Linked DNA regions of Homo sapiens: regions 1, 2 and 4 are each linked to region 3. Evidence: promoter capture Hi-C in 16 types of primary human blood cells and fetal thymus (Javierre and others, 2016). All regions are on one chromosome and are shown on one strand. Each heading gives the region's core, a stretch centred on a gene start or on the middle of the fragment in contact. The rest is flanking DNA. Distances are from core to core; before and after follow the strand shown. Region 1 overlaps DCP1A (decapping mRNA 1A). Region 2 overlaps LOC105377094 (a long non-coding RNA gene). Region 3 holds the start of CHDH (choline dehydrogenase). Region 4 has its middle 36 kb from the start of DCP1A.

Region 1 (3,376 bases), core at 720-3,219, 510 kb after region 3:
TTGTTTACAGATGTAAGTGCTGATAATATTGTATAATGTTCTAATGCATTCTTTTTTGAAATGAAAATAAAGTACATAGTAGATAACATTTCTACAGATTAAATGGTAACTACATATTTTTTTTTCTTCTATTAAATCTAAGGTCAGCTTCCCCTTACCATGGTTTTACCATTGTGAATCGACTAAATATGCACAATCTAGTTGAACCAGTGAATAAAGATTTGGAATTTCAGCTCCATGAACCATTTCTTCTGTATAGAAATGCAAGCTGTGAGTATATCTGTTTTATTATAGTTATTACATTTAAAATTGAGTGACTTTAGTTTCTATCAATCCATTATTTAGGAAGTTTCAAATTACAAAACAAAATATGGTCTCTACTTAATGATTATAAATGAGTCTGTTGGAAAGATCAAACCTTTTAAACTGGGCTCTGAGGCCAGAGGTGGTGGCTCATGCCTGTAATCCCAGCACTTTGGGAGGCCGAGGAGGGCAGATCACTTGAGGTCAGGAGTTCGAGACCAGCCAGGCCAACATGGTGAAACCCCGTATCTACTAAAAATACAGAAAAAAATTAGCCGGGCTTGGTGGCAGGCGCCTGTAATCACTTGAACCTGGGAGGTGGAGGTTGCAGTGAGCTGAGATCGCGCCACTGTACTCCAGCCTGGGCAACAGAATGAGACTGTGTCTCAAAAAAATAAATAAATAAACTGGGCTCTGAAACTGGAAACATTCTTTTGTATATAATTTAGTTTACTATTTCATTTAATAGCACTACATTTCTGTTGTCGGTTTATTAAAATAAGGTTTATGCCTTTGTTTTTTTGCAGCTGTGGACTATCAGCTGCCCATGTCCCTAAGCAACAGAACTTAGTTTGGGACACACAGGATGGGAACAGATACAGATAATTCTTTCCACAAAGAAAGTATTATTATTACTATTATTATTTTCTTTTTTTTGAGACGGAGTCTTGCTCTGTTGCCCAGGCTGGAGTGCAGTGGTGTGATCTAGGCTCATGCAAGCTCTGCCTCCCGGATTCATGCCCTTCTCCTGGCTCGGCCTCCCAAGTAGCTGGGACTACAGGCACCCGCCACCACGCCTGGCTAATTTTTTTGTATTTTTGGTAGAGAAGGGGTTTCACCGTGTTAGCCAGGATGGTCTTGATCTCCTGACCTTGTGATCTGCCTGCCTCGGCCTCCCAAAATGCTGGGATTATAGGCATGAGCCACCACGCCCGGCCAGAAAATATTATTTTTGCCCAGAATAGTGGTGATGGGTTTTTTTTTTTAAGATATTTATTACTTTTTCTACTTTATTTTGTCTGAATATGTTTCTAAGTAAGGTTTTTCTATCTGTTTATTTAATTGAGTGTCTACTGGTTACCAGCACTGAGCCAAGAGCTGTGGTGCTTTAATGTTAACGATACAGTTACCTATGTGGTGTAAGCAGGCAGTTAAGTCAACTGAGACTCAGAGATGCATAACTATTACCCTGTTGGAGAGTTAGGATTATGACTATTCTTCTGCTTTTTAGTCCAGGGTTCTTTCAGGCATTTTTACAATCTCTAATAACGATTGGATGTAGTCAGCAAAGCTAGAGTGGCCCTTCCAAGAAACTACAGTACTAAAAAATATACTTGATTCCAGTGTATTAGTATGGATATTGAAGGTATGGGTGTTTGAGGACAGTTTGTTGGACATTGACTATAGGGATATGAAAACTGGTTATGGTAACAATGATTGTGCTCTAATTGGCATCTAAGGATATAGTTGGAGAAATGTTGCTTCTAACTTAAAAAGTAAAAGTTAATGTGTTTGAATTTCACTTGGCGGGGGGGTAATTGGTCTTGGGGGATGTCTTCAGTATAAAATAGAAAAAGTTACTAAAAATTATACACCTCTTAATTCCCTGAATGAGAAGTAACAAGGCCTATTTTAAAGCTAGAAACCCCCAAGTTCTTTTCCGTAGCACACTTTGAAGTATAAGTGAAATAGGTTCTATCTTTTGACTTCTCAGTAAACTATTTGTCCAGGTAATTACCTCTCAGATTTTAAATTCTGTGGACATATTAGACATGCTTTGTAATAGCTGTAAGTTCAGATGGATTTATTTAAACTAATGTTAACAATGTAATTATTTCAGATTGCTCTTTTCTTTGTACTGAATATTCCATTAAAGGGAAAATTCGGCTGGGCAAAGTGGCTCAACACCTGCAATCCCACGATTTTGGGAGACCGAGGCAAGCAGATTGCTTGAGCCCAGGAGTTTGAGACCAGCCTGGGCAACATGTCAAAACCCCCACTCCACAAAAAAATAGAAAAATTAGCCAGGTGTGGTGTCACACACTTGTAGTCCCAGCTACCCAGGAGGCTGAGGTGGGAAAGTCGCTTGAACCCAGGAGGCTGTCCAGGCTGCAGTGAGCCATGATTGCGCCACTGCACTCCAGCCTGGGCAACAAGCGAGACCCTGACTCAAAAAATGAAAAGAGGGTGGGAGAAATTCTGCAAATGAATATGGATCCAATTTTTTTTTAAGTGAAATAGGCTTAATTCTGTTCTTTACTGCCTGGAAACTTAATCTAGCCATCACTCCTAAGTGGTTTGATTATTAAAGTAGTCAGTAGGGAAAGTTATCCGGACCCAGTTACCATTTAGCATAAACCTGAGATGAATTGTATTATATTTTTTTCACAAGGCAAAAGTCCTGTGAAATTGAAAGTGTGACATAACACAAATGTAATTGAACCATGAGTAACCAGAAGCTAACTAATTAGAGCTTCAGTTGTCTGGAAATATTTTTATAGTTCGTGTGTGGAAGAAATGAAGGCAAATTATAAGAAAACAAGCTAATACTAGGTTTTATTTTCTGAAAATCAAGCAGATATCCAGAGAATAACCTGGGGTCGGCATTAAAATGTCAATATTTTATAACTTTAACTCCACTGTAGTATCATAGGTTAAATTGTTATAGTGAGACCTAAAATCATCAGGAGTATTTATTATGTTAACTAGAACATTCTTGGGGAGAAAGTGCATTAATGCATTTTACTTTAGAAAATTTTCAACTGATTGAAACAAAAGTTTTCTTAGTTGAACAGAAAACTCACTTAACCAGGTCATTTCATTAGGGAAAGTATTTAAAGGAATAGCTGTATTGGGGAGAAGTGATAAGACAACAGAAAATGATTTTGTGAGTGTTAAGCCCTCTCGAGTGTGTGTTTTGTCTACATAGTCTTAAAAGTGGAAAATAGTCTTGTCAGGTCAGCGAGCTATTAAGTTGTTTAGGGATTTGTTCTTTAAATAAAAAGTTAGTATCTGATTATGCATACAGGTAATTATACCTGATTCTATAGCTGCACTTCTGCCATTCTCTTGT
Region 2 (3,029 bases), core at 412-2,911, 480 kb after region 3:
TAGCAAAGACTTGGAACCAACCCAAATGTCCAACAATGATAGACTGGATTAAGAAAATGTGGCACATATACACCATGGAATACTATGCAGCCATAAAAAATGATGAGTTCATGTCCTTTGTAGGGACATGGATGAAATTGGAAACCATCATTCTCAGTAAACTATCGCAAGAACAAAAAACCAAACACCGCATATTCTCACTCATAGGTGGGAACTGAACAATGAGATCACATGGACACAGGAAGGGGAATATCACACTCTGGGGACTGTGGTGGGGTCGGGGGATGGGGGAGGGATAGCATTGGGAGATATACCTAATGCTAGATGACGAGTTAGTGGGTGCAGCGCACCAGCATGGCACATGTATACATATGTAACTAACCTGCACAATGTGCACATGTACCCTAAAACTTAAAGTATAATAATAATAAAAAAAAAAAGAAAAAAAAAAAAAAGAAAACAGATCCAGACAAGTTAAATGACTTCTTCCAAGGGGCCAGCCATCAGATGGAAAAGCCAAGATTATTTGAGTTTCTGATTTAGAATGCTCAGATGCTAGGTGTCTTAAAGCTTTCAGTGAGACACTGCTTTAACATATCAAACATATCACAGCAAATAGGAAAAAAGAAGAAGTTCTGCCCAAGACATAGTCCAAAAGAGTGTAACCTCAAAGAGAATTCATATGATTTTCTCTGAAACAAAAACAACAAAAAAGAATTGGCCAGGTGCAGTGGTTAACACCTGTAATCCCAGCTAATCAGAAGGCTGAGGTGAGAGGATCACTTGAGCCCAGGAGTTCAAGACCAGCCTGGGCAACATGGCAAGACCCCCATCTCTGGAAAAAAAAATCAAAAATCAGCCAGGTGTTGTGATGTGTGCCTGTAGTTCCAGCTACTTGGGGAGCTGAGACAGGATGATCACTTGAGCCCAGCAGTTGGAAGTTACAGTGAGCCATGATCACACCACTGAACACAAAAGCTTGGGTGACAGAGTGAGACCCTGTCTCTTAAAAAAAGAAAGAAGCCAGGCGCGGTGGCTCACGCCTGTAATCCCAGCACTTTGGGAGGCCGAGGCGGGCGGATCACCTGAGGTCAGGAGTTCGAGACCAGCCTGGCCAACATGGTGAAACCCCATATCTACTAAAACTGCAAAAATTAGCCAGGCGTGGTGGCACATGCCCGTAATCCCAGCTACTCGGGAGACTGAGGCAGGAGAATTGCTTGAGCCAGGGAGACCGAGGTTGCAGTGAGCCGAGGTCGTGCCATTGCACTCCAGCCTGGCCAACAGAGTGACACTCTGTCTCAAAAAGAAAAAAAAAAAAAAAAAGAAAGAAAAACAATTGGATGTGGCATCTTCTCCTGTCCTCTCAGGCTATCCTAACCCTATCCATTCACCAAGGCTCAGTTGCGTTACTGCCTTTTCTGTAATAGCTTCTCTGAGCGCTCTTCATCCGGACACCCAGCCCTAGATATCAGGACCATATACTACTTTATATTGCTAGTTCCCCCCTCTTCTAACTTCTTTTTCTAACTCCTAATTACCTGATGAAAATTTTTTGTTCGTTTGTTGTTTGAGATAGGGTCTCGCTCTGTTGCCTGGGCTGGAGTGCAGTGGCACAATCATGGCTCACTGCAGCCTCAAACTCCTAGTCCCAAGCAATCCTCCCACATTAGCATCCCCAACTGCTGGGATTACAGGCATATGCCACCATGGAAATTTTAATGAGAAGATAAATGGTAACAGGAAGAAAAAAAAGAAAAATCATGGACATTCCACAGATTGGAATCCAGATATGTTCCTAAGATATCCAGAATTAACTCCATTCCAGAGGAAGCATCTTGACTTGGTTGCACCCCATCTGCAGAGGAGGCAAAGCCAAAAACAGACCTTCCAAAGTCCAGTTCTGTGGGAGTGAATGCACTGAGTTACTCAGCACTGAGGAGGCAGGAGACAAGGAAACCTGTGGCTAGCTCCAAAGCAACGCCAGCTCCAGTCACAAAATTAAGAGTTAGGTCAATCACAAGGATCTTTCAAAAATAGTTCCCAGAGTTCTTATGCTATCTAATAAAATTTTATGGACACTAGAATTTTTATGGATTTCTCCTTTCTTGTTTCACAGCTCAGTTTTATTATTTTGCTAGCAAAAAACTATCTTTCATGCTTTGGTGAAACATCCACTATAAAAGCCAGTAGTAGGATAGATCAGGTAAAATACATAATACCTGGCAATGGCCCTCTAGACCACCATGAGTCCATTAGCATTTGTTTATGGGTTTTGCTAAGTGATTTCTTGGAAGCCAAAGGGTTAAGATCCCAGATGAGTCGTGAGGAAGAACAAGCTTGTGGGATGAATGCTGTGGTGGTAAATGCTGGGTCCACCTCTGCACACAGGCTCTGTCATTTCATATATCGAACTGCCCATTTTTCCCTAAATAAAACAAGGGTAATCATACTTGCCCTGTCCCGGATTGAGTTAAAGGAGATAATATATATGGACATTCTACATAATGGGTTAATATAGCAGGGAATATATTGAAGATCAAAGTACCAAAAGCATGGTGCTTTGTTCATTGTGGCAGAGCTCTGATATAGTTTATCAGTATTATTATCCTGGAACTGTAGGCCCAAGATTGTTTTGTCTATTCAAAATTGAACTACCTAATGTGTTCATCATGTAAACTTTGGCCTCTTTATACTTCTACACTTCCATACTTCCATACTTCTATAAATGCTTTTCCAAAGAATCACAATAATTTCTAATAAATCTACCATGGATGTGATCAAAAATTGAAATGCATAAATGTTTATTGGAAGAAACACTACTGAGTCCTCAAAAGCATATTGACTATGTTTTTGGTTTAAAGTTAAAAATATTGGCCAGGGATGGTGGCTCATACCTGTAATCCCAGCACTTTGGGAGGCCAAGGCAGATGGATCACCTAAGGTCGGGAGTTCGAGACCAGCCTGGCCAACATGGTGAAACCCCAACTCTACTAAAAATGTAAAAATTAGCTGGGCATGGTGGCGTG
Region 3 (3,020 bases), core at 1-2,500:
GCGCCTGCCACCATGCCCGGCTACTTTTTGTATTTTTAGTAGAGACGGGGTTTCACCATGTTAGCCAGGCTGTTCCCAAACTCCTGACCTCAGGCAATCCGGCCGCCTCAGCCTCCCAAAGTGCTGGGATTACAGGCGTGAGCCACCGAGCCCGGCCAGACTTGACTTTTTTTTTTTTTTTTTAACAAATGAGCCATCATACCAGGAGCTGAGTTCTTATCAAACGGCCGGTGAGAGGCCAAGCAACAACCCTAAATGCTACCAAGCTCAAATTGTTGGCCTTGCAGCAACTACAGCAAAAGGGATGAATTCTTCCCTTTAGTGCAAAGAGCCAAGAGGGCTTCTGAACTGACACAGAGGGGAAGGATAGGAGCTGAAGACATCAGGAAACAGTGAATGGGGTTTGTCCACCAGCAGGTGACTACGGAGCTTGATGCTATATGCTATTCTAAGAGGGCAGCGGTATCATTTCAAAGGTTATTTGGGGGATGAGCTATTTTCTCTTCAGTGACCCAGAAGATTCCCTCGATCATTCAGGGTACTGGGGAAGAAAGGCAACTGCCTTCACGAGTGAACATGGCAATCAATATGGCCAAAAAGGGAGGGGGTACTAATGGAGAAACAGTTCTTGTGCCCCAACAGGTGAGCAGACCCCAAGTAACAATAACTACGTGCCAGGCCCTTCGCCGCTAATTGCAGGCCATGTCGTTATACCTTAAGAGACCCTGGTGGGTTCGGTACTGCCCTTCGTTTTACCGTTCGGGACTTGGAACTTGGTGAGCATAAATGACAGAACCAACAGTACAGGGTGGCATCTGAGACCGGGTCTGTCTGATTCCCACGCCCCTGACTCAAGCAACCTGACGCCGATGTCCGGGGCTGCCCTGAGGGTGCAGGCATGCCCCTTGAGCCGGCAGTCCGCGCACGCCTTCGGGGCAGCCTGGACTGGCGGATCAGACGACGTCAGGATCTGGGCTCGAGGGCCGGGAGATGAGGGAAGAGGTGCTGGCGGGGGCTTACCGGCTCTCGGGGTACGGCGCTCCTGCACAGCGCGGCCAGGCTTAGCAGCACGAGCGACATCGCCGGGCCACTGCGCGGGATCCAGGCCACCCGCACGCTGCGCTTTTATCCCGGCGCCGCCGGGCCGCCCCTTCTCGGCTCCGCCTCTCGCAGCGCCGACCCATTCCCGCCACCCGAACAGAGGGCGGGCCCGCTGGCCCCCTCCCAGGCTGGGGCAGGTCGCAGCGCCCTCGCCTGCTGGGGCTCGGAGGGATGGGCCGTGTCCGAGCGCTGGCGGAGCACGGGCCGCCGCGGCGCGCGCCTACCCCCGCGCACACGTGCATGCAGTGAGCCAGGTGCATCAGCTGCACCCGCCCTCGGGCTTCGCGCGCCTCCGCTGGAGCCCAGCTAGCCTCGCGGCTCCGGGGCCGACCGGGTCGGAACTGCTGCGTCCCCATTCCGGACGCAGAGAGCGCGCGGGGCGCCGGCGCCGCCGGTTAAAGTGCCGCGGGGCAGGGGCCGGGCCGCGGCCACCCGCTCCTCCCGCTCCGGTCCCGACTGTCGGGCTCTCGGCCGAGTCGCCCCGGGTGAGTAGCCGCGGAGGCGCCCCGACCACCCCGCAGCAGCGCCGCCCGGCCGCTAGCCCGGAGAGGCCTGGGGGCCGGAGGTTTGGGGCCGGGCTGGACGCCGAGACCCGGGCCCGCTTTACACAATCGCCCCGCCGCGCGAAGCGAAACGGGTGGAACGCAGACTGCCGAAGCTCACTGACTCCTTTGAGGGAGCGAATTCTTTCAGCTACGCGGGGTTAGAGCGGTAGGAGTGCCCGCTGCCCGACCCCAGGCTTTCTGGTAAATGTCTGTTTCCACCAAGTGAGTTCGGACAGCAACACCTGGGGCTCCCAAAGCGGAAGCCGTCAGCACTGGCGATTTGGAGCTGCGGTTCTCAAGTTTCCCTGGCCCGGGATCTCTAGCGCCGCCTAAAATGAGATCCAGACGGCAGGTCCGGGTCAGGCCCGGGATCTGCATTTAACGAGCCTCCACCCACGCCCCCGTAATTCGTGGGTGGGTGGCCCAGGGACCATCCTTTGAGACACAGTGGGTTTGGGGGAAAGTTCACAAAAATCAGCTGGGCTAACAGTGGAGTCACAGAGGCTGGAACTGCTGCTTCAGCCCCCTCGGTTTGCAAACGACAGGGTTGTGGTGACCAACTCAGGGCCATTTAAACTTGTAGGCAGAATTAGCTCCATTCTACAGATGAGAAGACGGAGGCCTAGAGAGGGGTATGGAACTTAGGGGTGTGTTGTCAGCTGGTGAGAGGCTGTACTAAGTCAAGCAGCTGTTTTAGCTGAGGCCCTACTTGTGTGCCAGGCCTGGCCCACCTGCCAGCTTGATTAAGGCTTGCATGGACTGGGGATCAGCCAGGGGTTTGGGCTCTGGCATGCATACGTGTGGAGTTGCAGGTAGCATTTTCAGAGAATTGCTCTGTTTCCTGACCAAGGAACTCAGTTGAGGTTGTGGCCGCACCCCTGCCTGGGACTGGGCCACCCTGAGCCCCTCATTCCACCTCTCTGAGTTGCTTTGGGCCCTGTGGCCCTTGAGAACATTTTCAGCTCTAATAGTCATCTTCCTGTTCAGCAAATACCTGCTGGGTGCAAAGGTGAACCACACATGGGTGCTGGCTGATGGGTACTCCTGGAGTGAGGATGAGTGCAGTGAGAATTATTTTCAAGGACACAAGTACCCGCCTTGCTGCGGAAGCCCAGATGAAAACAGCCTCGTCTGCAAGCTCAAGATTGTGAACTTTGTCCCATGGTGCTGAGGAACAATGGTACAGGCTTAAATGGTCATCCATTTTTGGTTTTAGAAAGGCCACCTGGTTGGCTCTGCAGGGCAAAATAGAGGGCTAGTCCCTCTGAGACGAGCGAGCAGGCAGCCATTCACTAACATGCGTTCATTCCGTGAGTATCTGATTCTGTGCTGTGGGCCAGGCTCTGGGCTGTGCTGGCTTTTCAGTTGTGTGCC
Region 4 (3,332 bases), core at 713-3,212, 460 kb after region 3:
GCTTAGCAGGTGCTACAGAGGAGAGTAGAATCCAAAAAAGGATTGTGCAACCCAGGCATCTCTGTCCCTTCAAGGTTATCATCTTGCCACTCATCCACCTACGTTAACCGACCTAGAGGCATAGCCGGAACCTGAGCTAATTGTGAAATTCCTCCCCATAGTAAACCTTTCCCCAGAGGTGCCACTCAGCACCTCTGCCCATGAACCTCTGTCGAGAAAGAACTGAAACTCATTTATTTAGTGGTGAAATTGACTGAGACAGACTCATGTTCTCTCTTATGAGCAATTCCAAAATCCCCAAACTCTGAATACCAAAAAACTTTTTTTTGAGACTAAGTTTTGCCCTGTCACTCAGGCTGGAGTGCAGTGGTACAATCACAGTTCACTGCAGACTTGACCTCCTGGGCTCAGGTGATCCTCCCACTTCAGCCTCCCAAGTAGCTAGGACTACGAGCACATGCCATCACATCTGGCTAATTTTTTTTGTAGAGATCGGGTTTCACCATGTTGCCCAGGCTGGTCTTGAACTCCTGGACTCAAGCAATCCTCCCACCTCAACCTCCCAAAGTGCTGGGATTACAGGCATGACCCACTGCACCCAGCCTAAAAAACTTTTTGAAGTTTGACACAAACTCATTTAGTAGCACACATTGGACTGAATTGAAATGAGACTATTTGTAGTCTTCATTCCCTTTAGTGGAAAAATTCATCACTGTCTGATTACAGAAAGCTACCCCAGACCATGTTGGCAGTATGGTATAACATATACTAAATGCAATGTATCACCTTTCTAAAATTCAAAAATACCTTAATGCTGAAATACATTTAGCATGGAATACTTTAGATCTAGTATTGTGGGCCTGAGGCCACTAGAATACCAGTTGGGTCAGTTTGTCATGGGCACCCACCATGACATCTCTGGGTCCAGGTGGAAAGGGCAAGCTCCATGGTAGCTTCTGGGGGTCTGGCACCAGTGGCAGAGCAGGGAGTGGGGCACACCTGCCTGGTAGTGCTACTCCTGACTCAGAGCATCGCCTCCTCCAGGGGGTTTACATTCCAGCAGCCCCAATACATAGGAGGCACAGCTGAGCCATGGCCTTGCTGTTGAAATCCATTGTTAGGAGATGGTGAGGATGACAGGGCCCTGGTGCAGAGCTCTGACCTACGCAGCTGTCCATGGAAACAAAACCTTTTGGAATCCATGGCCATGGCTGGGTGTCATCTCTAAGGCAGCAGGCCAAGTTAGTGAACTCTGGTACCCAGTTAATTACACCAATTTGTTGATATCATACATACCTATCTGGAGGTTGAATTGAATTATGAACTTGGTATTGAAGTATAACAAACATGCAGAACAGTGCACATTGTGTAAGTGTACCACAAGATGAATTTTCACAAATCAAACACACCCCTGTAACCAGCATCCAGCAAAATAGAATATCCCTAGCACTGCAGAAACCTCCCTCATGTTTCCTTACAAATTATTATCATCTGCATCCCCCCACCAAGGGCAACCACAATCTTGACTTCTAAGAGTCTAGTTTTTGCAGCTTGATTTTTTAAATGAAATTCACCAAATGTTTTGCCATTAGGTAGACATGATTTTAGTGATGGCCAGATTCCCTTACTATCTTCTGAAAGTGAGACTATAAACTAGCTGGGCAGGAGGTGAGGTATAACAACCACATAAAATTCAACAAGCATATGCCCAAACCCCAACCTGGAGTTGCCTCAAAATCAAACCCTGACAGACTATAAAAAAGAAACAAAGCTTGCTTGCAATAAAGAACACAGAAGGCTGTGTGCGGTGGCTTGCGCCTGTAATCCCAACACTTTGGGAGGCCGAAGCAGGAGGATAGCTTGAGCCCAGGATTTCGAAACAAGCCTAGGGAACATAGTGAGACCCTATCACTACAAACAATTTTTCAAAATTAGTCAGGTGTGGTGGCACATGCCTGTAGTCTGAGCTACTTGGGAGGCTGAGGCAGGAAGATTGCTTAAGTCCAGGAGTTTGAGGCTGCAGTGAGCTATGATTGTGCCACTGCACTGCAGCCTGGGCAACAGAGCAAGACCCTATCTCTTTAAAAAAAAAACAGAACACAGAAACTTAATTTAAATTAGATGATTCAAATATATGTATCACTTAAAGCTTGTAGAATACTATTTTTATTGAGATAAAATTTTCACCATTTTAAACATTTTGAAATGTATAATTCAGTGGCAAATTCATGGAGTTATACAACCATCACCACCATCTAACTGCAGAACATTTCTATCACACCAAGAATTAACCCTATACCTGTTAGCAGGTGCTCCCAATTCCTCCCTCCACCCATCCCCCGTCAATCACTAATCTACTTTGTCTCTCTGGATTTGCCTATTCTGGATATTTCCTATAAATTTAATCATACAGTATGTGGCCCTTTCTGTCTGGCTTCTCTAGCTTAGCATAATGTTTTCAAGGTTCATTCACGTTCTAGCATGCATCGGTATTTCGTTTCTTTTTATGGCTAAATAATATTCCACTGTGTGCCACATTTTGTTTCTCCATTCATCAGCTGGTGGCCATTTGGGTTGTTTCCTTCTTTTGACTATTGTGAGTAATGCTGTTATGAGCATTCATAAGTAATGCTGTTATGAGTAATGCTGTTATGAGCATTCATGCACAAGTTCTTGTGTGAATGTATGTTTTCGGTTGTCTTGAGTATATACTTAGGAATGGAATTTCTGGGTTATAAGGTAACTGTTTAACCTTATAAGGAACTCCCAGACTGTTTCCTGAAGTGGCTGAGGATTTTGCCTTCCCACCAGCAATGTTATGAGTGTTCTAATTTCTCGACATCCTTGCTAACACTTATTTTCTGGTGTTTCTTTTTTTTTTTCATCATAGCCATCCCAGTGGGTGTGAAGTAGTATCTTACTGTGGTTTTGATTTATTTCCCTAATGACTAATGATGTTGAGCATCATTTTATGTTCTTATTGGCCATCTGTATATCTGCTTTGGAGAAATGTCTGTTCAGATTCTTTGCCCATTTTTAAATGCAGTTGTCTTTTTATTCTTTTATGAGTTGTTTAAATATATTTTGGATACTAGATCCTAATCAGAGATAAGATTTACAAATATTTTATTTACAAATGTTTTCTCCCATTCTGTGAGTTGTCTTTTTTTTTTTTTTTTTTTTTGAGACAGGGTCCCCAGGCTGCAGTGCAGAGGTGGTGTGATCACGACTCACTGCAGCCTCAACCTCCCGGGCTCAAGTGATCCTCCCACCTCAGCCTCCTGAATAGCTGGGACTACAGGCACACCACCATGCCAGGCTAATTTTTAAAT

The links. Contacts are between HindIII fragments. The CHiCAGO score rates a contact against its expected background, and 5 or more counts as called.
Region 1: a contact is called between a fragment that was not itself captured here and the fragment with the promoter of CHDH in region 3, in 1 of 17 cell types (M2 macrophages). The highest score is 6.4, in M2 macrophages.
Region 2: a contact is called between a fragment that was not itself captured here and the fragment with the promoter of CHDH in region 3, in 2 of 17 cell types (M1 macrophages and M0 macrophages). The highest score is 6.2, in M1 macrophages.
Region 4: a fragment that was not itself captured here is called in contact with the fragment with the promoter of CHDH in region 3 in 3 of 17 cell types (M1 macrophages, M0 macrophages and M2 macrophages); the score reaches 6.6 in M1 macrophages.

Annotation. Positions count from the first base shown.
Region 1 is chr3:53,339,038-53,342,413 of GRCh38, reverse strand. DCP1A (decapping mRNA 1A) reads left to right here. Exons shown (of 10, transcript NM_018403.7): 3 at 143-270. Among named protein-coding and RNA genes, the nearest start is that of DCP1A, 6.8 kb to the left of the region's middle. The HindIII fragment of the contact is 5,444 bases long and covers 1-3,376 here.
Region 2 is chr3:53,362,708-53,365,736 of GRCh38, reverse strand. The region is part of intron 1 of LOC105377094 (a long non-coding RNA gene); the gene reads left to right. Among named protein-coding and RNA genes, the nearest start is that of DCP1A, 17 kb to the right of the region's middle. The HindIII fragment of the contact is 1,361 bases long and covers 981-2,341 here.
Region 3 is chr3:53,844,649-53,847,668 of GRCh38, reverse strand. CHDH (choline dehydrogenase) reads left to right here and starts at 1,250. Exons shown (of 9, transcript NM_018397.5): 1 at 1,250-1,586. It overlaps IL17RB (interleukin 17 receptor B), which reads right to left and starts at 1,101. Exons shown (of 11, transcript NM_018725.4): 1 at 1,021-1,101. The coding sequence starts at 1,080. RefSeq lists enhancers at 1,053-1,347, 1,294-2,134, 2,135-2,975 and a silencer at 1,053-1,702. The HindIII fragment of the contact is 5,797 bases long and covers 1-3,020 here.
Region 4 is chr3:53,381,659-53,384,990 of GRCh38, reverse strand. No RefSeq gene overlaps it. Among named protein-coding and RNA genes, the nearest start is that of DCP1A, 36 kb to the right of the region's middle. The HindIII fragment of the contact is 378 bases long and covers 1,774-2,151 here.